4 separate regions of the Homo sapiens genome follow, and all the other regions are linked to region 1. The links are contacts of gene promoters, found by promoter capture Hi-C in blood cells and fetal thymus (Javierre and others, 2016). All regions are on one chromosome and are shown on one strand. The core of a region is centred on a gene start or on the middle of the fragment in contact, and the rest is flanking DNA. Distances in the headings are between cores, read along the strand shown.

Region 1 (5,037 bases), core at 1,355-3,854:
GAGCCAAGATCGTCGTGGCACTGCACTCTAGCCTGGCAACAGAGCTAGACTCTGTCTCAAAAAATAAAATAAAATAAAATAAAATAAAATAAAATAAAATAAAATAAAATAAAATAAAATAAAATAAAATAAAATAAGACATAATAAAGAGAGTAAAAAGTCAAACCACAAACTGGGGGAAAACATTCACAATAAATTTACCTGATAAAGGTCTCATACCTGGAATTATAATGAACCAGAAAACAGAAAAAAAGATAACCCATAACAAATGGGCAAAAACCATGGACGGGAACTTCTCAAAGAGGATCTTCAAATGGCTAATACGTATATGAAAAGGTGCTTACTCATCAAGGAGATGCAAATTCAAACACAAGGAGATTACACTAAACACCCACCACAATGCCTAAAATTAAAAATGTTTGTGAGAATGTGTAGAAACTGGAACTGTCACACACTGCTGGTGGGTGTGTAAATTAGGACTACTTTGGGAATCTGTTTGGCAATATCTGCCAAAATTAAATATTCACCTGCCCTATGATAGCAATCCTACTCCTAAGAATATTCCCTGGAAAAATTAGTGCATAGTTCCTTCAAAAGACATGCAGAAGAATATTCATAGCAGCATTATTTATAACAGGCAAAAGTTGAAAATATAAATGTCCATTAAGAGTAGAAAAAGTTGTAATATCCAATGTAATAATACTCAGCAATAAAAGAAAAATAAATTACATGATGGATGAATCTTACATATAGAATATTGAGTGAAGAAAGCCACACACAAAAGCCATACTGGGCTGGGCGCGGTGGCGCACGCTTGTAATCCAGCACTTTGGGAGGCCGAGGCAGGAGGATCACTTGAGCCTAGGAGTTCGAGACCAGACTGGGCTACATGGTGAGACCCCATCTGTACACGAAATTAAAAAATCAGCTGGCGTGGTGGCGCTTGCCTGTGGTCCCAGCTACTCAGGAGGCTGAAGTGTGAGGATCACTTGAGCCTATGAAGGCAAAAGGCTGCAGTGAGTCATGATTGTGCCACTGCACTCCCGCCTGGATGACACAGCAAAACCGCCTTTTTTTTTTTTTTTTTTAAAGAAAACTGTTTGATTCCATTTATGTGAAATTCAAGAACAACTAAAACCTAATCAATTATTATAAGAGCCAAAATGAAAGTTAACACTGGGGACAAGGGATACGAATGACAGGCGACACAATGAAACCTCTGGGGATTTGGAATGTCCTGTATCTTGATTTCTGTGCTGGTTCACCAGGGTATACATGTAAAAATTCATCAGACTTTAACATTAAGATTTGTGCACTTTAGGCTGGGCGTGCTGGCTCACACCTGTAATCCCAGCACTTTGGGAGGCGGAGGCGGGTGGATCGCCTGAGGTCGGGAGTTTGAGACCAGCCTGACCAACATGGAGAAACCGTGTTTCTACTAAAAATACAAAATTAGCCAGGCGTGGTGGCACGTGCCTGTAATCCCAGCTACTTGGGAGGCTGAGGCAGGAGAATTGCTTGAAGCCAGGAGGCAGAGGTTGCAGTGAGCTGAGATTGTGCCACTGCACTCCAGCCTGGGAACAAGAGTGAAACTCCGTCTCAAAAAAAAAAAAAAGAAAAGAAAAGATTTGTGCACTTTACTGTATATAATATCTAGATGTTTAAAATGCAATGGGAGCATAGAGAAAGAAGTACCTAACTCGGAGTAAAGAAATCCTGGCAGACTTCACTGGGAATGTTTGAACTGAATCTTGAATAGGAGCTTGTCCATAGAGGGTCACGGATCTCCCACACAGAGAGCACCACAAAATCCTCAGCAATTTGGTGAGAGTATGGTACAAGATGATAGTGGCCTGGGGCTTGAACAAGAGGCTGAGTGCGGTGGCTCACACCTGTAATCTCAGCACTTTGGGAGGCTGAGGCGAACACCTGAGGTCAGCAGTTCGAGACCAGCCTGGCCAAAATGGCAAAACCCCGTCTCTATTAAAAATACAAACATTAGCCGGGCATGGTGGCAGGTGCCTGTAATCCCAGCTACTCAGGAGGCTGAGGTGGGAGGATTGCTTGAGTGTGGGAGGCGGAGGTTGCAGTGAGCCGAGATCATGCCACTGCACTCCAGCCTGGGTGACAGAGTGAGACCCTGTCTCAAAAAAAAAAAAAAAAAAAAGTTAGACGTCTAGTACAGGAACCATGCAACACATCGAGTCAGCCAAGGGCAAGGTAAGGAGAGTGATGAGGAAAAAGGGGTGGCTGCCCTGCTCGGTGCTGTTCTGTCAAAGAGCCGAAATTCTTCGCGGGGTGGCAGATGAGGACAGGAACAGCTGGGGTGTGGCAAGTGTTGCTGCCTGGGGAGAGCGGAGGGTGAGGTGTTTCTCACGGGTGCATCCAGTGACTCATCAGGACAGCGGAGCTCATGAGGCCATGTCTCCCGTTTCCTGCCTTAGAATCACATGAAAATGAGCAGAGGGTGGGTCATCAGGACAGGGCTCTCCGGGGAGCGGAAGCGCCTTCAATGCAGGCCTGTGGGCAGGGGCGTGGGGGCGCGCACACACACACGCCTGGGTGACCTCTACGTATATACAGAGCCTCCCTGGCCCTCCTGGAAAGAGTCCTGGAAAGACAACCTTCAGGTCCAGCCCTGGAGCTGGAGGAGTGGAGCCCCACTCTGAAGACGCAGCCTTTCTCCAGGTTCTGTCTCTCCCATTCTGATTCTTGACACCAGATGCAGGTAAGCAGAGATGAAAGGGTGAGGTGACGGCCAGGGAACAGCCTAGCCTCACAGATGAGAGTGCACGCTTCCACTCCAGTGAGCCTGGCTCTGCAGCTTGGCGTCTGTGTGACTTTGCGCCATTCACTTACCTTCTCCTGTTGCCTCAGTCTGTCAACTTCTGGCCTTTGCACCTAGAATACTCTTCCTGCCTAGTATCTCATCGTCCATCAAGTTTGGGCATGGGCAGCCCTTCCTCCGGGAAGCTTCGTTTTGCTTCTGCCAGATAGGATTAGGTTCCTCCATGTGCTTCCATGACACCTTAAGTTGGATGCCCCTGCCTGGTACTTACTGTTACCAGCTGTGAATCCAGCGAGTCTGCAGCAAACTCAATCCTTGCCTTCTCGGGGGAGAGATTCGGCTGAGGGGCAGAAGTGGGTTTAAGGCAGAGGGAGAGGCTGAAGCAAGTTTGAGAGCAGGAGTGAAGGTTTATTAAAAAGTTTTTGAGCAGCAATGAAAGGAAGTAAAGTACACTTGGAAAAGGGCCAAGTGCGTGACTTGAGACACCCAAATGTGCTGTTAGACCCTTGACTTGGCGCCTGCCTGCCGCACAGGCACTTGGGAGGGGCCGCATGCGCAGTGTGTTTACTGAAGTCGTGCGCATGCTCACTTGAGGCGTTTTTCCCTTACCCGCGGAGCAGCACTAGAGGAAGGTCACACACACCAGCTAAACTCCACCATTTTGCTTCTTAGTGTAGATGCTTGAGCCCACTCGCCCAATTCCTGAGCTCTTACCAGGAAGCTGCTGATCACCAAGTTCAGGTATTTTCTATCTATTGGGAGACTGTCTTTCCCAACGCTGGCTGTGACCAATATTATTTTAGAAAGACAGTGTAACAACCGCCTGGCCATCACCTGATAGTCACCTGACATTACTGGGGTAGAGGCCCTCTCCCGCCCTGCTCATGTCTGCTCTATTTCTTACCACACTTGATTAGAATTACTTTTTGGCCAGCCTGACCCACATGGCGAAAACCCATCACTACTAAAAATACAAAATTAGCCGGGCGTGGTGCATGCCTGTAATTCCAGCTACTTGGGAGGCTGAGGCAGGAGAATAACTTGAACCCGAGAGGCGGAGGTTGCAGTGAGCCAAGAGCATGCCGCTGCACTCCAGCCTGGGCAACAAGAGCGAGACTGTGTCTCAAAAAAAAAAAAAAAAAAAAAAAAAAAGAATTGCTTTTTGCGTCAGCAGTGTCCCCACTAGACTTTAAGCTCCTCAAGGAAAGGGATTACATCTTTTTCATCGTTATATCCCTAGCCCCCCAAGTGTCTGTCAGGTAGTGATCACTTAATAAATATCCGACTGAAGGAAGAATGAAAGAAAAGCCTTGCTGGGTGGCGAGGGAGAGACACAGATGTAGAGAATGTGCGGTCTCTTCCTCCATGGAATTGAGCCGATCACTTCTGTTGTTGCCTGGACATCTAGCCGATGACGTGCTCACCTAGCTAGGACCTCAGGACAGAACAAGGAACTCCCCAGCAGCCTGGTTTTAAGGTTTTACCTTCTGATCTTGCTTGTCTCTTCAGATATCAAATTAGGCCACCTCTTTGCTAACCTCCTGGTTCACATTTTTGGAAGGGTTTCTCCAAATGTTATAATTTCTAGGGGAATAAAGTCAGGAGGAGGGGTGAAATTCACACGAAGCCGCAGTGCGGCAAGTGCTTTTAGTGTTTGATTGGCGGACAGCCAGGGCTCTGAATTCCACTCATCCAAAAGCCATGCTCCAGCTGGTAGTTTTCCCTCGCTGTCCATCATTTTTAGTTTCCCCTTTAAGAGTTTTCTGGGCTGGGCGCTGTGGCTCACACCTGTAATCCCAGCACTTTAGGAGGCCAAGGTAGGTGAATCACCTGAGGTCAGGAGTTCAAGACCAGCGTGGCTAACCTGGAGAAACCCCATCTCTACTAAAAATACAAAATTAGCCGGGCGTAGTGGTGTGCACCTGTAATCCCAGCTACTCAGGAGTCTGAGGCAGGAGAATCACTTGAACCCAGGAGGCGGAGGTAGCAGTGAGCTGAGGCCGCGCCATTGCACTCCAGCCTGGGCAACAAGAGTGAAACTCTGTCTCAAAAAAAAAACAAAAAACAAAACAAAAACAAAAACAAAAAAAACAGACTTTTCTGATGGGAACGTTTTCTGTAGAAGAGATCGTCAGGGGGGTTGATGTTGCTGAAGTGTGTAGACGGTGCTTTCTCAGAGGTGCCGTGATTTGAAGGCACTAAATGCATTCCTGCACAACGGCGTCTCCTGGCCCCATGATCTAGAGCAC
Region 2 (5,055 bases), core at 1,836-4,335, 400 kb before region 1:
CTTTTTCTTTTTCTTTTTTAATGAGACGGAGTCTCGCTCTGTAGCCCAGGCGGGAGTGCAGTGGCGCGATCTCGACTCACTGCAAGCTCCGCCTCCCGGGTTCATCACGCCATTCTCCGGCCTCAGCCTCCCGAGTAGCTGGGACTACAGGCGCCTGCCACCAAGCCCGGCTAATTTTTTGTTGTATTTTTAGTAGAGACGGGGTTTCACTGTGTTAGCCAGGATGGTCTTGATCTCCTGACCTCGTGATCCGCCCGCCTCGGCCTCCCAAAGTGCTGGGATTACAGGCGTGAGCCACCGCGCCCGGCGAAGAAGACCCAGTTTCAAATTTTAACCAAAAGTGTAAAAGTCAGAAAGCCAAAAGAAATATACTCAAATATTATTATAATAATAATCGATTTTGATGGATAAAAGGAAGAATCTAACAATTCCTACTCATTTTATCCTTGGCTACTTGAAGTTCTTAAATATTAGAAAAGTATAATTGAAAGTTTATCTTTAGCTACCTGAACAAGTTCTAGTCTCTCTTAAAAAGTATAATTGAAATAGAAACTGTTGGTGGTGTGCCGTGGCTCACGCCTATCCCAGCATTTTGGGAGGCTGAGGCGGGCAGATGACCTGAGGTCGGGAGTTCGAGACCAGCCTAACCAACACGGTGAAACCCCATCTCTACTAAAAATACAAAATTAGCCGCGCGTGGTGGCGCGTGCCTGTAATCCCAGCTACTCAGCAGGCTGAGACAGGAGAATCGCTTGAACCCAGGAGGCGGAGGTTGCGGTGATCGCACCATTGCACTCCAGCCTGGGCAACTGAAACTCCGTCTCAAAAAAAAAAAAAAAAAAGAAATATTAATTGTTAACCGCATCTACTTGGGAACCTGTCTATCATAAAGATCAGAGAGCCCTATCGCCTGTATACTCGAACTATAAACTTAATTTTGAATTTGGGTTTGCAAGGTTAGTATTAAATAGCACGGAGTCCAGAATAGTATCTCTCTCTGAATGAGAGTAAACCATAAACCAAGGCCCTAAGGGAAGTGAAATACCCAGGAACTCTTCCTTCATAAAAATATCTGCTGATTAGAAGAAACTGGCAGAGAAGCCAACATCTACAGACCAAGTTTCAAACTCCAACAAAACTCCAACCTTTCTACACCTTAATCCCTCAGGCCAATAAAACATCCATTAAGTTAAGGACAACTGATACTACTATTTAAGAAATGATGACAGTATTGAAGCTGAGTATTGGAGCCACTTTTTTCAGAGCCTTGCTGGAGGGAAAGGTAACAATGGGCTACTTAGTGAAAACACAAAATACACTGAATTTAGGTCAACCTGTTACCAAATCGGAAAGTTGGTTTAAGACCTACATCTATTACAGGTTCACTTTCCGTAATAAGTGTCAATCAATGTGCTTGGCTAATAAGTAGCTCGAAAGATTTAATAGCCGAGGATGACACAGTGAAAAAGTTGCCTGAAATCCATACTCCTAACAGAACATGAAAAAGGCTCTTCATATATACACGAGCATGAGTGGGCTTTACAGAAGCCACAGACCTTCTGGCAAAGTTGACAAGTTTTAACCTGCTTTAAAAATTACTATTCACTGCCTTCATCCCAATGTAACTTTACTGAGTGTTATTCTATTGGACAACCCTACAAAAACAAAATCCCCAGAGCAAATTCTTGTACATTTCAATATCCTGCCTACTTATAAGAGCGGAAGAGTCGAACACAGCAGGGGAAAAAACGTGACGTGCACAACCTTGATCCAAAACACAGCTCTTCGTAGTTTAATTTTAGGCCTAACCATTTTGTCTTTTTATAAAGGTTAAAAAAGAAAACAAAGAAAGGACACATCGCCTGTAACGCAGAAGTGAGATAATGATATCAACCGGAGTTCGTTATTTATCAAGGGACAACAAATCACGCTCACACTGCCCAGGGAGAGTACTACTAAAATTAAGATACAAGGATGGGTACAACCTCACACCCACTGACGATGACACGCTTCTGTTCTTGGATGACTTATCTTTAAAGAATTAGTTAAAAGGTTGAGTGGCAACGTTTTGTGTTTGTGCGTGCGTGTGTTTCCAAGAGAGCCAAACATGGTGAAAAACCAATCTTAACTTCACCTAAGTTATCTAAAGAAGCAAATTTCACCCCTAGGCTGAAGCTCAAACAGGAGCGAGGAGAAGCTCCGAAAGATCAGTTCGTAAGCGGTGGCCCTCAAGCGCCCGGGACGCTCTACGTTTTTACCAATGTGGAATGTGGAAAAGAGGTTACAGGCTGGAGCTGAGAAAACAGTCAAGCTACTCGCGACAATATTCCTGAGCAGTGAAACGGGTGAACAGAGAGCGAGCAAGCAGGGGCTGAGAATCAGTGAGAGGAAAAATCAAGGAACAAAACCGGAGAGTCTGGTCCAGCATTAAGAAAACGGAGCAAAGGAAGAGGGTGAAACGCGAGGGGAGGGAAGACCGAGAGTCGGCAGAGACCGTGGTGCCGCGAGGTTCAGAGCAGGGCTGGGTCCAGGAAGAGTCAGACCTCCGCAGCCCAGCGAGCTTCCCATTTCTGGCTAAAGCCAGCGAAGAAAACGGCCCTGGGGAGCAGACAATGAGCCACCGCCCCAGGAGCTGCGGCTCCCAGCACGCAGGTGGCGGCTCCCCGGCCCCGCGCGGGGCAGGTCGGCCGTCCCGGGCCGCTCCCGCCCGCCAGGCCACGGAGAAGGAAGGAGGAGGAAGAGACCCGGCCTGCGTCCCGCGCCGGCCGGCCTGTGTGCACTTACCCCGGGCAAGGCAAGGTCCCCGCCCCAGCGAGGCGCCTCGGTCAGAGCTCCCGGCGGGCTGCGGAGCCGCCCCGGGCTAGCGCGCGGTGCGGGGAGGGGAGGGGAGGGAAGGGGAAGCGGGGCGGGAAGAGACGCCGCGCTGGAGCAGCCGCTGCTACCGCTAGGCCCAGCGGCGGCGGAGTCCTGCGCACGCCAGGGAGGGGAGGGGAGGGAGCCTTCGGCAATGGCGACGGCCCGGGCCGGAGGGGAAGCGGAACAACCGCCGCCGCTGCGCGTGGCCACAACCCTGGGGGAGGAAGACGGCGGGGAGCGGGGCGGGGCGGGGCCAGAACCCAGAACCCCTCCCGCCCCGAAGCCGGAGCTCCCCGGGGCGGAGACGAGCGCCACCTCCCATGGGCAGGCCCGCGCGGGGGCCGCTGGGAGTAGTAGTTCGGTGATAGACGTTGCTTTTATTCCTTGGGTAGTCTTTGTATTGAGAGGAGCAGCCAGTCCCTCATTTAATTCAGCATTGTCTCCAAGCAGGTCTCTGCCGACGGAAGACGCTGACAGACGATTGCTGTTATACACATCTGCTCCGCGACATTTGTTTCTGGGAATTCATCCGTTATCCATTTTGCTTTTTTGCTTACAAATTCTTAACTAAAATTTTGCTGCTAAATTAAGTATCACCTCCTTGCAAATTAAGACTTCCCTATTTTATCCACGGAGGAGTTCATCAATGTTTCACTTATTCTACAAATATTTGAGTGTCTGATATGGACTAGACACTGTTAAGCATCAGAAATACAAGGGTGGTTCAGGTGCGGTGGCTCACGCCTGTAATCCCAGCACTTTGGGAGGCTGAGGCAGGCGGATCACCTGAGGTCGGGAGTTCGAGACCAGCCTGGCCAACACGATGAAACCCCGTTTCTACTAAAAATACAAAAATTAGCTGGGCATGGTGGCACGCATCTGTAGTCCCAGCTACTCGGGAGACTAAGGCAGGAGAATCGCTTGAACCCAGGAGGAGGAGGCTGCAGTGAGCCAAGATCGGGCCACTGCACTTCAGCGTGACAGAGTCGTCATGCCTCAAAAACAAAACAAAAAACACAAAAGAAATGCAAGGGTGAACACGATTCACCAAGCCTTTGTGGAGCTTATATGAGGACGCAGTAATTAAAGTAGTCACACCTGGTATAAGAAAAAACTTGGCGAGGTTACTTTGGATAGGGTGGTCGGAGAAGGCCTCGTTAAGGAGGTGACACTTAAGGCAAGAACAGAAAGAGACAGCAATAAGAAGCACCCAGAGAAAAGCAATACAGGCAGGAGAAGAAAGAAAAGGGCTTGCTACGGTCAGTTAAGAAGGCCTGTGTAGCTGGGGCCTAGAACAAGAAGGCGGTACTATTAAGAAAACACTACAGCAGACAAGATTCAGGTCATGAAAGATCCTGAATGCCATGGTAAAAAGTCTATATTACAAAAAACCATTAAAAGGCTTTTTTAAGCAGGAAAGCGATGTTACCTGGCTTACACTTTAAGATCACTAGACTGCAATGTGGATAATGGAGTATAGAGATGCAAGAATAGAAGGGAAATAAAGTAGGAAGGCAGTGGAAAGAAAGAGGAATTGTGCTTCTCTATCAATGTAGAGCAAAAAACTCAATTGATGCAGTGGGTACAGGAGAGAAAGGAATCAAGGAGCAACATGGCACAGTAAGAGATAACCTGAAAAATGCTCTGATTATTAAACACACAGAAACACTGGATAAATAAGACATCCTTTCAAAGGCATAACTTGCAAGAATGAAAATAGAATGTTTCTGACAGTCTTCCAAATTTCACACTCAACCTGAAGAAGGGGCAGGACACCAGAGTGGTAAGCAGGGCAGTGAAGCCATGGTTGTGTTGAGGGCACCTACTTATCTCAGAAATCTCTAGAGTTTTAATAGGTGCACAGGAAACTAAAGACAAGGACTTGGGCCTATACAAGAAGTCAGGACTGTGATCCTGCATAGGACTGGAAATTCAAGGCGCTATACCCTCCAAGAACAGACTGGGGGGAAAAAAAACCCTATGCTAGCCCAGGGAGACACACAGGACATTTGTTTACTTTGGCCTGCAGTGGGCTTGCAGGGCAGAAGAAAATTTTCCCTTTAGAATTAATAACCCTTTAGAATTTTCCCTCACTAAGGTTTTAAAGTTCAAATTTGTCAAGAAAGTGGTCCCAGGCTGGAGTTCTGGGGGGCCTGGAAGAAACAAATACAAATCCTGACTGCACAGGTGTACCCTCAA
Region 3 (5,112 bases), core at 2,402-4,901, 300 kb before region 1:
TTCCTCCTTTCTTCACTCTGTTCACTCTGAAATCCCTCAGGCATTAAAGTGAGAAAAGACACATTGGCTTGGGGTCAGCACCTGACTCCGTTCGCTCTGGAAATTGGTTGGTTTCGCCTACTCACTCACATTCGTTTCTCCTTCTGGTAACAACCCCTCAATTCCCCTTTGAGAAAATCACCCCCTTTCTTTCCTTTTTTTCTTTAGAAAATGTTTAATTGTAGTAAAATACACAAAACATGAAAGCGATTATCTTTTTTTTTTTTTTTTTGAGACAGAATTTTGCTCTTGTGGCTCAGGCTGGAGTGCAATGGCACAATCATCTCGGCTCACTGCAACCTCCGCCTCCAAGGTTCAAGCGACTCTCCTGCCTCAGCCTCCTGAGTAGCTGGGATTACAGGGACTCACCACCACACCCAGCTAATTTTTGTATTTTTAGTAGTGACGGGGTTTCACCATTTTGGCCAGGCTGGTCTCAAACTCCTGACCTCCTGATCCACCCGCCTCGGCCTCCCAAAGTGCTGGGATTACAGGGATGAGCCACCGCGCCCGGCCGAAAGTGACCATCTTAACCATTTTTAGGTGTACAATTCAGTAGTGTTAAGTACCCTTACGCGGCTGTGCAACCAACCCCCTTCCTTTCTTCAAAAGTCTGTGTGTTCGGGTCTGATCCCAGCTCCTGGTTCCAGGGCGGGGCCTATGAGTAAGGCTGGGCCCGTGAGAGCACTCCATTTTCCTAACAGGCTCATCATAAAAGCCAAGCCCATGAGAATCAATCCACGGGCAGTTGCTAGAACTCATGGAAAGGAGACTTGCTCTTTCTGTTTCAGATGCCAAACCAGTAGGAATATAGTTGGAGCTGCAGGCAGCCATCTTTGCCACCAGCTCCGGGACTTGCCTGGTAAAGAGGCCCACAGAGAGGAAGGCAAAGCTGAGGAAAGGAGACAGATGGATTCCTGGCAATGCCATTTGAGCATCTGGACTCAGCCATGCCTGAAACTATTGCCCATACACTTTTCAGTTATTTGAAACAATAAATCCTTTTTTTTTTTCTTTTTTGCCGAAGCATATTTACGTTGGTTTTTTGTCATTTGCTACCAAACCAATCTATCTAAGAATCTGATTCTTGAACTCGGGTTTATTGTTGCACGTGAGGCTTATAAGAGCTAAGATCCAAGCACTGATGTCCTTTTTCCTTCACGTCTCTGAGCTTTCAGAAATCATCACCTAACCTAGCCCTGAGCCCCATCACAGAATGACCACATGACATTTGCTTCATGATGAAGTTGAGAAAAATGGTTTGGGAGGAAAGTGAGTATAATAAAGAAGTTCCACCAAAGGCAAAAACATGACAAATGTTTGTCACTGATGTGCGATGACACATCAACAAGCATCAGTGAGCACAGACATCTGTAAGTGTGTCATACACACAGCATGTCCTAAGAAAGACAGTGTTTTCAGTCGTGGTTGAAAGTCCACCCTCTCCTGACTTCTGAGGCTCTAAAATGGATCTGCGCCTGATGTGAGGGACAGTCATTGTCCATACGAGAGTCTGGTGCACACTGTGCAGTGTGGACGCACACCGCAGCCAGAATGCAGGTTGTCATCAGTACTAGCATCTCTCTTCCAAAAGAGTCAAGACTGGAGACAGACAGGTCAATGTACTCTTAATGCACACCCCAGAACAAAGATACTAGGCGTCTGCTCTCTGTTTTGGAGTCTACCAGGTATGTCTCATCATCAAAGAGCAGGAACTCTTGGATGATGAATTTAAAAACTATAAGAGAATGTGTTTTCATGAAGTTCCCATGAGGGCACTCATTACATGAAAGCTGGGGGCGGTGACTCACGCCCACACTCCCAGCACTTTGGGAGGCCAAGGCAGGAGGATTGCTTGAGCCCAGGAGTTTGAGACCAGCCTGGGCAACACAGCAAGATCCTGTGTCTACAAAAAAATTTTAAAAATTAGCTGGCATGGTGGTGTGCACCTGTTGTCCTAGCTCCTCAGGTGACTGAAGCAGGAGCATTATTTGAGCCCAAGAGTTTGAGGCTGCAGTGATCTGTGATCGTGCCACAGAACTCCAGTCTGGGCAACAGAGCAAGAGCCTGTCTCTAAAAATAAATAAATAAATATATATATTTTTAAAAAGTGCCTTCTTTGTGAAGCTGAGTTTGTTTTGTTTTGTTTTGTTTTGTTTTGTTTTTTTAACCTAAAGGCAGGAGTTAAGGTTTTTTCCTGGGCCCATGATTCTATAATCTCCTTTAGGGACTCTCGGGCACACACACACAAACCTAAGAGGTGTGTGAGGAGAATAAATACGTATTGTAAATGTAAAGCCCAGCAAACCCTCAGCATCCACAGAACAGTCTGTGTGTCACAGCCGGCAGGTGAGGAGCACACAGGAAAGCATGGAGGGCCACAGACGCTGAATGTTTCTAGCACCCAGACTCCTAACGGGCTGTGCCCATCATGAAGAAGCCTCCGGTGGGGTCCCCTCAGCCCCTAGGGAAGCACAGCAGCCCCGACCAGCCCTGTCCGGAGAGGCTCCATTCCTAGGACCCCCGATCCGGCCTCCTCCAGTCGCAGCCACCAACTGGCACGTGTCCACCTTCTCTCAGAGGCAGCACAAAGCCACACCAGTGGCTCCTTACTTCTTTCCGTCTAGCTCCTGGGTACGTGGGGAAGTACGCTGACCCCTTCAGAAGCCGGCCCACATGCAGGGGCCACGAGGGCTACGGAAGAGCGTCCGAGTCTTCGTCGCCCTCCTGTTAGTCTCCCTCTGATAAGCCATGGATCTAAGTCTAGGCTAAGATCCAAGTCACAGAGCCCCAGTGAATCTCCCAAGGACAAACGTTCTGTGGGAGAAGGGGCTTTGCACATTTTCACAGCTGTATCCCCAGGGCCTTGGACAGGCCTGGCACGTGGACGGCATCTGTGATAGGTGTTGCTGTTAACCAGTCTTAGTGTCTTCATCTATGAGATAGTGGTTCTCAATCCACGTTGTGGGACAGGAAAGGAGAGCCCAGTGCTCAGCATGCTGAGTGTGCACAGAGCGGTCTCATCATATCCAGTCGCCCAGCCCAGGGAGGGAGCATCTCTGTTCCCATTTTGCAGATGAGAAAACTGAGGCTCAGAAACCTTAACTGTCTGCTCACATGCTCCCTGCAGAGCCAGGACTCAAACCCACGTCTGAATCTGAAGCCCTCGTGGTTTCCACTACGTCGCACCACCTTTCTCAGCTCTAAGTGCTCCTGGAGGGAGGTATTTCCACCTCCACCCAGAGCTGCAGCCCCCACGCCCAGCACAAAAGCGGCGGCGCTTGGACGCAGCAAGCCACAGCTTCCTCGTGAGCCCTGAGCTGCGGGCCGCGGACGCTGACCTCCTACCACCCAACCTCGCTCGAGCTCGCCCACCTGGAGAAGGGCCCCGGCTGTGCCCCGGGGACGCCCCCACGCGGGAAATACTCACGGCTCCCGCAGGCGCAGGCGGCTGCGCGGGGCGCATCGTCTCCGGGGGCTCCGGCCTCCTCGAGAGCAGCCGAACGCGGGGCTGGGCTACCTCCTTGCTGTGGGGCATCAGATTATTTTAGCACCAGCGGAAGGAACGGACGGAAACTGAAGTCACATGGAGAGCGGGCTGCTCGGCGACTCAGCACAGGCTCACTCAGACCCGGCCTCTTAGAGGGAAGCGCGGCGCGGGCGCGGGGGTGGGGCGGGCCGGGGGAGCGGGGCCCGAACACCTGCCGGCCTAGCGGCCGAGCAGCGGGGATGTTTAGACGATCTTCCAGCAATGCGACCGAGGCTCCCCCGGCTTTCTTGCGTTGGTGCCTTGGCAGGGCTGGGGGCGGCCAGCTAGGGGCCCCTTGCCTATGAGGTCTGCTGACCCAGAAACTTTGCTACGAGCTTCCAGCCAAGGACCAAGCTGAGGCCGACTTTGGGAACGGCAGCACCGTGGTAAAGAGGCACAGCCTGTCGTCTGGCAGGGTCAGCCGCTCAGCCAGTCTGTCTTCTTATCCACTCAGCCGGTCCTTGTGGATCATCTCCTTTACGGACCCTGTGTTAGAAAGAAGGGGAATTGCTTTGTCGAGGACTGTCAGAGAGTGCCAAGAGCTTCTTGATCTTAGACTGCGCGGATGGGTTTTTTTGTACCTGATGTGTACAAAGTTCCCTGCCAGCTCTTGCCAAGAATTCAAAGGAGTAAGAATAATTGATCATATAGCCATCATTGAAGCAGCGCCAGACACTGTGCTAAGAGCTTCATATGCATTACCCCAGCGCTCCTGTTCTCGAGGAACTACTGTCGTCTAGAGAAGGTGAAATATTTACAGTGCCTGCTGCGTGTGGAGTGACGTGGACCACCATAGTCGGGGGCTCAGACAAGGGGCCTCCAGTTCTGATCTCTCTCACTCCCCTTCAAATCTGAAACGTTGAACTGTCCTGCAGGATTGGGTCACCTCTCTTATAGCCTGTGATTTGGGATTGTGTGTAGCATTGTCCATCCTAAGAGAACAGGAGCCAAGTCCTTTTCACTCCAAACATCTGGCACATTGTCTCTGCTTTCTACAATATTCACTCATGGCCGGGCACAGAGGCTCAGGCTTGTAATCCTAGCATTTTGGCAGACCAAGGCAGGTGGACCGCCTGAGTGCAAGACCAGCCTGGGCAACATACTGAGACTCCATATGTACAAAAAATTTAAAACTTAGCCAGACCTGGTGGCACGCACCTGTAGTCCCAGCTATTTGGGAGGCTGAGGTGGGAGGATCACCTGAGCACAGGGAGGTTGAGGCTGCAGTGAGCCAAGATCACGCCATTGCACTTCAGCCTGTGTGATAGAGTGTGACTCCGTCTTTAAAAAAATAAAAATAATTTTAAAAATAAAATATTATCTCATAATGGTAATAACAATCACACCAATGAAAAAGCTAAATAAAGATCAAATTGTTGCAAACCCAGGTGCTTGATTCAGGCCTCTTTCTCTCTTGTATGCACATTCTCTACTTCATGTCTTTTGTGTCTACCAATCAGTTGGTAACTCCCCAATTTTAATTTCTAGCTCCAACATTCTCTTCCACGAGAGAAGATCCAGACTTGCATTTTTAACTGTCTACT
Region 4 (5,524 bases), core at 1,872-4,371, 350 kb before region 1:
CTGTAATTCCAGTTACTCGGGAGGCTGAGGCAGGAGAATCACTTGAACCCAGGAGACAGAGGTTGCAGCAAGCCCAGATCACGCCATTGCACACTCTAGCCTGGGGGAAAAGCATAAAACTCCGCCTCAGAAAAAAAAAAAAAAAGAAGAAGAAGAAAAAAGAAAAGACAGAACTCTCTGAAGATCAAAACCGCCAGCAACGGGAAGGGTGACTTTGTGAAGCAGTGACCCCGCTGTCCCTACAGCAGCCCAGCAAGGCACCAGAGAGGTTAACCATTGGCGTTTTTCAAGCTGCCTTCTGTGGAGCAGCATCCTGGGGAGCTAGGGTTGGGGTCGGGTGTAAAAGTGGTCATTGTTCTGAGTGATAAAAAGAATAAGGAGGTGGGAACTGGACTCCTAATTTATCCACAGCAGCTCAATTCTTACATGTTGAAGTTTTTCCCATTTCAGAGTTCTACTTGAGATCTTCATTAAGGGTTCTGCTATGAAAATCAAACCTGCAAACCACCAGAGATGATGGCTTTCTTCGCTATCTCTTTTCTTTTTTGAGATGGAGTCTCGCTCTGTCACCCAGGCTGGAGTGCAATGGCGTGATCTTGGCTTACTGCATCCTCTGCCTCCCGGGTTCAAGCGATTCTCCTGCCTCAGCCTCCCGAGTAGCTGGGATTACAGGTGTGCGCCACCAAGTCTGGCTAATTTTTGTATTTTTAGAAGAGACAGAGTCTCACCACCTTGGCCAGGCTGGTCTTGAACTCCTGACCTCAGGTGATCTGCCCACCTCGGCCTCCCGAAGTGCTGGGATTACAGGTGTGAGCCACCGTGCCCGGCCTCTCCACCGTCTCTGGTGGACACAACACCCCGTCTCTTAGGTGCCTGATTCTCAGACAGGACTCAGGAGCAGAGACCAGATAAATCTCAGATTTGTCTGAGCTTATTTACTTCTGGAGTTTTCTAAATAGCTCTCTCTCTTCCCTGGGGTGGGTTGCTTTTTTTTTTTTTAAGGCAGTTTTTTCAATCTTTTGGGTAGTAGCTCTTGAGTCTGTAAAGCCTGGTAATTTTCTAGAGGTAATTGGCATTAACCATCAAGACTCTCCTCACATGCTCCCTTCCCACTCTGGCACCCTCCTCCCACAGGCCTTCCTCCCGTCCTGCTGCCTCCATCAGTCTCTTCCTCTGGCAGCCAAGGGTTGCCTCTCCAAGTGGTCCCAGGAGAGAAATCCTAGGGCCACGTATCAGTCAGAACACTAGTCCTGGACACCTGTGTTTCTCCTGCCCGCAGGCAGACCCTTCGGGAGACACTTGACCAGCGCAGGCCCTTGGGGGGCAGCTCGCCAGGTAGGACCCCTCCCTGCCAGCTGGGGTTTCCCAGCTCCCCACGCTTGAGTTCTCCTACCTAGAATCTTCTTAGGACTACTTTTAACAGCTGCAGTCCTCTCTGCTTGCTTTACGCCTCCCGAGACTCGTTGTTGCAAAAGTCTTTCTGTGCTAGAGACCCAAACTTTGAATCTCTACTCAAGCTAGTGGTTCTTAGACTTCAGCATGCACCAGACTCATCTGTGGGACTCACGATAGCGCAGATTGCTGCGTTCCACCCCCAGAATTTCTGATTCAGTAAGTCTGGGGTGGAGCCTAAGAATTTGCATTTATTTTCCTTTTTCTTTTTTTAATTTGTTTGAGATAGAGTCTCGCTCTTGTCACCCAGCCTGGAGTGCAGTGGCGCAATCTCAGCTCACTGCAACTCCCACCTCCCAGGTTTAAGCAATTATCCTGTCTCAGCCTCCTGAGTAGCTGGGATTACAGACGTGTGCCACCACGCCTGGCTAATTTTTATATTTTTAGTAGGGACAGGGTTTTGCCGTGTTGGCCAGGCTGGTCTTGAACTCCTGACCTCAGGTGATCCGCCTGCCTTGGCCTCCCAAAGTGCTGGGATTACAGGTGTGAGCCACTGCGCCTGGCCAAGAAATTGCATTTCTAACAAGCCCCCAGACCACACTTTGAGAAGCGCTGTGCGAGGCTTTTGCTTTCCTTCACTGTTGCTGTGGGTATTGGTGTTCCAACCCACAATTCCCTTTTGCTCATACTAGCTTCAGTATATTCCAGTGTCTCTCTGCTTATAGGCTTTTTGTAATAATCTTATTTCTATGGAATTCTGATATACTATGGCCTTTTTTTTTTTTTTTTTGAGACGGAGTCTTGCTCTGTCGCCCAGGCTGGAGTGCAGTGGCACGATCTCTGCTCACTGCAAGCCCCGCCTCCCAGGTTCACGCCATTCTCCTGCCTCAGCCTCCCGAGTAGCTGGGACTACAGGCGCCCGCCACCACGCCCGGCTAATTTCTTGTATTTTTAGTAGAGACGGGGTTTCACCATGTTAGCCAGGATGGTCTCGATCTCCTGACCTCGTGATCCGCCCGCCTTGGCCTCCCAATATACTGTGGCCTTCTATTTTAACTATCCTACGACCACTGGCTCTGTGGGCCAGGGTTTCACCCTCACACAGGTGCTATGCACTTAGAAGGCATTCTTTTTTTTTTTTTTTTTTTTTTTTTCAGATGGAGTTTCGCTCTTGTTGCCCAGGCTGGAGTGCAGTGGCGCCATCTCAGCTCACCACAACCTCCGCCTCCGCCTCCCGGGTTCAAGTGATTCTCCTGCCTCAGCCTCCTGAGTAGCTAGGATTATAGGCACACACCACCACACCCAGCTAATTTTGTATTTTAGTAGAGACAGGGTTTCTCCATGTTGGTCAGGCTGGTCTCGAACTCCCGACCTCAGGTGATCTGCCCGCCTCGGCCTCCCAAAGTGCTGGGATTACAGGCATGAGCCACCGTGCCTGGCCTAGAAGGCATTCTTGCTGAAGAAATTCGGCGGAGGGAAGGATTCATGCAGGCTGGAGCAACAGGGAAAGCTTCACAAAAGGAGTTGGAGTTGAGTGTGTCCTCAAAGGGAGATTTGTCTGTGTAGAAGGGAGAGGAACGAGCATTCCTGACAATGGCTCCTGGACATAGGAGCATTTGTTGGGATGACACGGAGGAACAGACTCTCACTGGAACACACATCTCTTCAATGAGGTGGTGAAATACATCATGGGAAGGAGCCTGTCTGTACCAGAACTCTTACAACCTATTAAGTGCAATTAGCCTCGCTGTAGCCAAAGGGATGTTGATTTTGCTCAGCAGATTGTTATTCAGGATCCCCAGGGACAGTGGTGCTGTGTGGGCAAAGCAGCGTGGGCAGCAGCAGCGTGGGAATGGGTGTGTTCACTCCCGAAGCCCAGGACAGATAACTCCACTTCTTGTTTCTGTAGAAAGAAGTGTGGCAAGAGCTGACCCGAGGAAGAAGCTTTGCTCAATAGGAAATGAGCTATGATGATGAAATGAGGAAGCCCTGCTGGGCTTCAGCTTGATGGTTCTGAATTATAAAGAGAAAAGAATGTGCAAAAAGCGAATATGATCGTGGAAAACTGGAAACACTCCAAATATCGAAAACTGGAAACACTCCAAATATCCATCAATAAGACATTGGTTAAGTGAATTGCGCAGTGTCCATGCTGCGGCATACTATGAAACCCTTAGGCAGAAGAAGGTAGCACTGGGCATAGTGACCTGGAAATAACTCCTAGCTACATGGTTAAGTGAGGAAAACAAGTTGCCAAATAGTATATTATAATTCTTTGATTTAAAAAATATATCAGTAAAAACTCTTGAATGAGGCCAGGTGCAGTGGCTCACACCTGTGATCCCAGGACTTTGGGAGGCCGAGGCGGGCGGATCACCTGAGGGCAGGAGTTTGAGACCAGCCTAACCAACATGTAGAAACCCCATCTCTACTAAAAATACAAAATTTAGCCGGGCGTGGTGGCGCATGCCTTTAATCCCAGCTACTCGGGAGGCTGAGGCAGGAGAATCGCTTGAGCCTGGGAGGCAGAGGTTGCAGTGAGCCGAGATCACACCATTGCACTCCAGCCTGGGCAACAAGAGCAAAACTCAGTCTCAAAACAAAAACAAAAACAAAACAAAACTCTTGAATGATGTGTGCAAAGTGACTGTTAACAGTTTGCCTGTGGAAAGAGGAGTGGGGTTAAAGTGGGAGATAGAGAGCTTAAGTGACTTTTCATTTTTTATTTTTAAAATTAAATTTCTGAATGGTTTAAATTTTTTCAAACATGCAATTGAAATAAATTCCAGCTAATGTGTACTCAGTGCCAGACACTGCTCTAGGTGTTTTAGGCCTATTATTTAATCCTCCCAACAAACCTCTGGAGATAGGTATTATTAATCTCCCCCATTTTGCAAATTAGAAAACTGAGGGCCGGAGCAGTGAAGCAGCCTGTCCAAGGTCACACACTAATAAGTGGGAGAGTTGAAATTTGAACCCACGTCATGTGGCTCCAGCATCTATGGACTGACCCTCTCACTGCAAGGCCCTCGATGGACCATGTTGGTCCATGGGATGGTAACTGTAACTGTAATAAGATTCCAGTAAAAACCGCACAAAAACTATGTGCATAGAAAAAGCAATGGGAGTCTCTATAGTTGTCCCTTTAAAACATGGATCCAAAGATTCACTCTGAATTCCAGCTCAGACAGGCTAATTCAGGCATGAAATATAGTGATTTCAGAACACAAGGAAAGCCTCACTTCTCCCTCCTACCCCAAACTGTTGGTTAACATTTCTTGAACAAGGACTAACTTTTTACCACCCAAATAGCGATCAAGCTTAATATGTGAATATTTCTGGACAAGGCGTAACTATCTCAAATTTAATTGTGTATATCTCTGATTTAATATTATCAAGGTGTAAATAGCAATCACATACAAAAAGCAGGTTGTGATAAGAGATGGGGAAAAGGCAGGAAGGAGGGACTCAGAGCATGATAGGGTACATATGGGGAAGGCAGACGGCAGCAGACTATCATATACTAGTTATCAATGATACTTCTTTACAGTGATAGAAGCCTTCCCTTTCCTAAGAACTTCCTATGTATTTACACATTTGATCTTGACAACTTATGAACTAGAGAAGACAGATTTCTTCATTTTATTGATAGGGAAAACCAGGCTCCAGGAGGCTGTGACTTGGTAAATTACCAAGTTGGAACCGGAACCCAAAACTCCTGATTCTCCCTCGAGGATTCTTGAATTACACCCAGACACTTCAGCCACATCACAACTTCACCCAGCATTAGGTCTGAGTCAGCATCAGTGTAAGAAAATGTAGCAGACAAAAGCTCCAGAGGTTAAAGGGAGCAATAGGACCCTGGCCAGGACCCACTAAAGGACATCCAGGTGGAAGGACAGAGGAAGAGCCCAGGTCAACATAGGGGATGCCAAGGTCACAGGCTGGGGGAATGGCCCCAGTGCTGACACCAAGCAGCTAGGAAACAGGGCAGAAGTTTTGATTGTGGCATCTATATGCCAGGACTTTGCTCCCACCACTTCTCCCATGCTGCCCCCATTTCTAGAATCTTCCTCCTATTTCTTTCCCTTCATTCTTTGCTTTCCTCTCCCACTCTAGCTCCAAACTCGCA

Evidence for each region. Contacts are between HindIII fragments. The CHiCAGO score rates a contact against its expected background, and 5 or more counts as called.
Region 2: a contact is called between the fragment with the promoter of PAK2 here and the fragment with the promoter of TM4SF19 in region 1, in 7 of 17 cell types (naive CD8 T cells, monocytes, total B cells and 4 more). The highest score is 13.5, in naive CD8 T cells.
Region 3: a contact is called between the fragment with the promoter of NRROS here and the fragment with the promoter of TM4SF19 in region 1, in 6 of 17 cell types (M0 macrophages, M2 macrophages, naive CD8 T cells and 3 more). The highest score is 12.9, in M0 macrophages.
Region 4: a fragment that was not itself captured here is called in contact with the fragment with the promoter of TM4SF19 in region 1 in 2 of 17 cell types (M2 macrophages and M0 macrophages); the score reaches 7.1 in M2 macrophages.

The regions. Positions count from the first base shown.
Region 1 is chr3:196,335,955-196,340,991 of GRCh38, reverse strand. TM4SF19 (transmembrane 4 L six family member 19) reads left to right here and starts at 2,604. Exons shown (of 5, transcript NM_138461.4): 1 at 2,604-2,728. TM4SF19-DYNLT2B (TM4SF19-DYNLT2B readthrough (NMD candidate)) reads left to right here and starts at 2,572. Exons shown (of 6, transcript NR_037950.1): 1 at 2,572-2,728. RefSeq lists a silencer at 2,300-2,471 and enhancers at 2,220-2,514, 1,881-3,080. The HindIII fragment of the contact is 5,119 bases long and covers 1-2,975 here.
Region 2 is chr3:196,737,887-196,742,941 of GRCh38, reverse strand. It overlaps PAK2 (p21 (RAC1) activated kinase 2), which reads right to left and starts at 3,085. Exons shown (of 15, transcript NM_002577.4): 1 at 2,785-3,085. RefSeq lists a silencer at 2,505-3,294. The HindIII fragment of the contact is 10,729 bases long and covers 1-5,055 here.
Region 3 is chr3:196,638,233-196,643,344 of GRCh38, reverse strand. It overlaps NRROS (negative regulator of reactive oxygen species), which reads right to left and starts at 3,651. Exons shown (of 3, transcript NM_198565.3): 1 at 3,470-3,651. RefSeq lists enhancers at 1,297-1,356, 1,377-1,726, 2,895-3,014 and silencers at 3,465-3,564, 3,585-4,014. The HindIII fragment of the contact is 14,541 bases long and covers 1-5,112 here.
Region 4 is chr3:196,686,249-196,691,772 of GRCh38, reverse strand. No RefSeq gene overlaps it. Among named protein-coding and RNA genes, the nearest start is that of CEP19, 23 kb to the left of the region's middle. The HindIII fragment of the contact is 434 bases long and covers 2,905-3,338 here.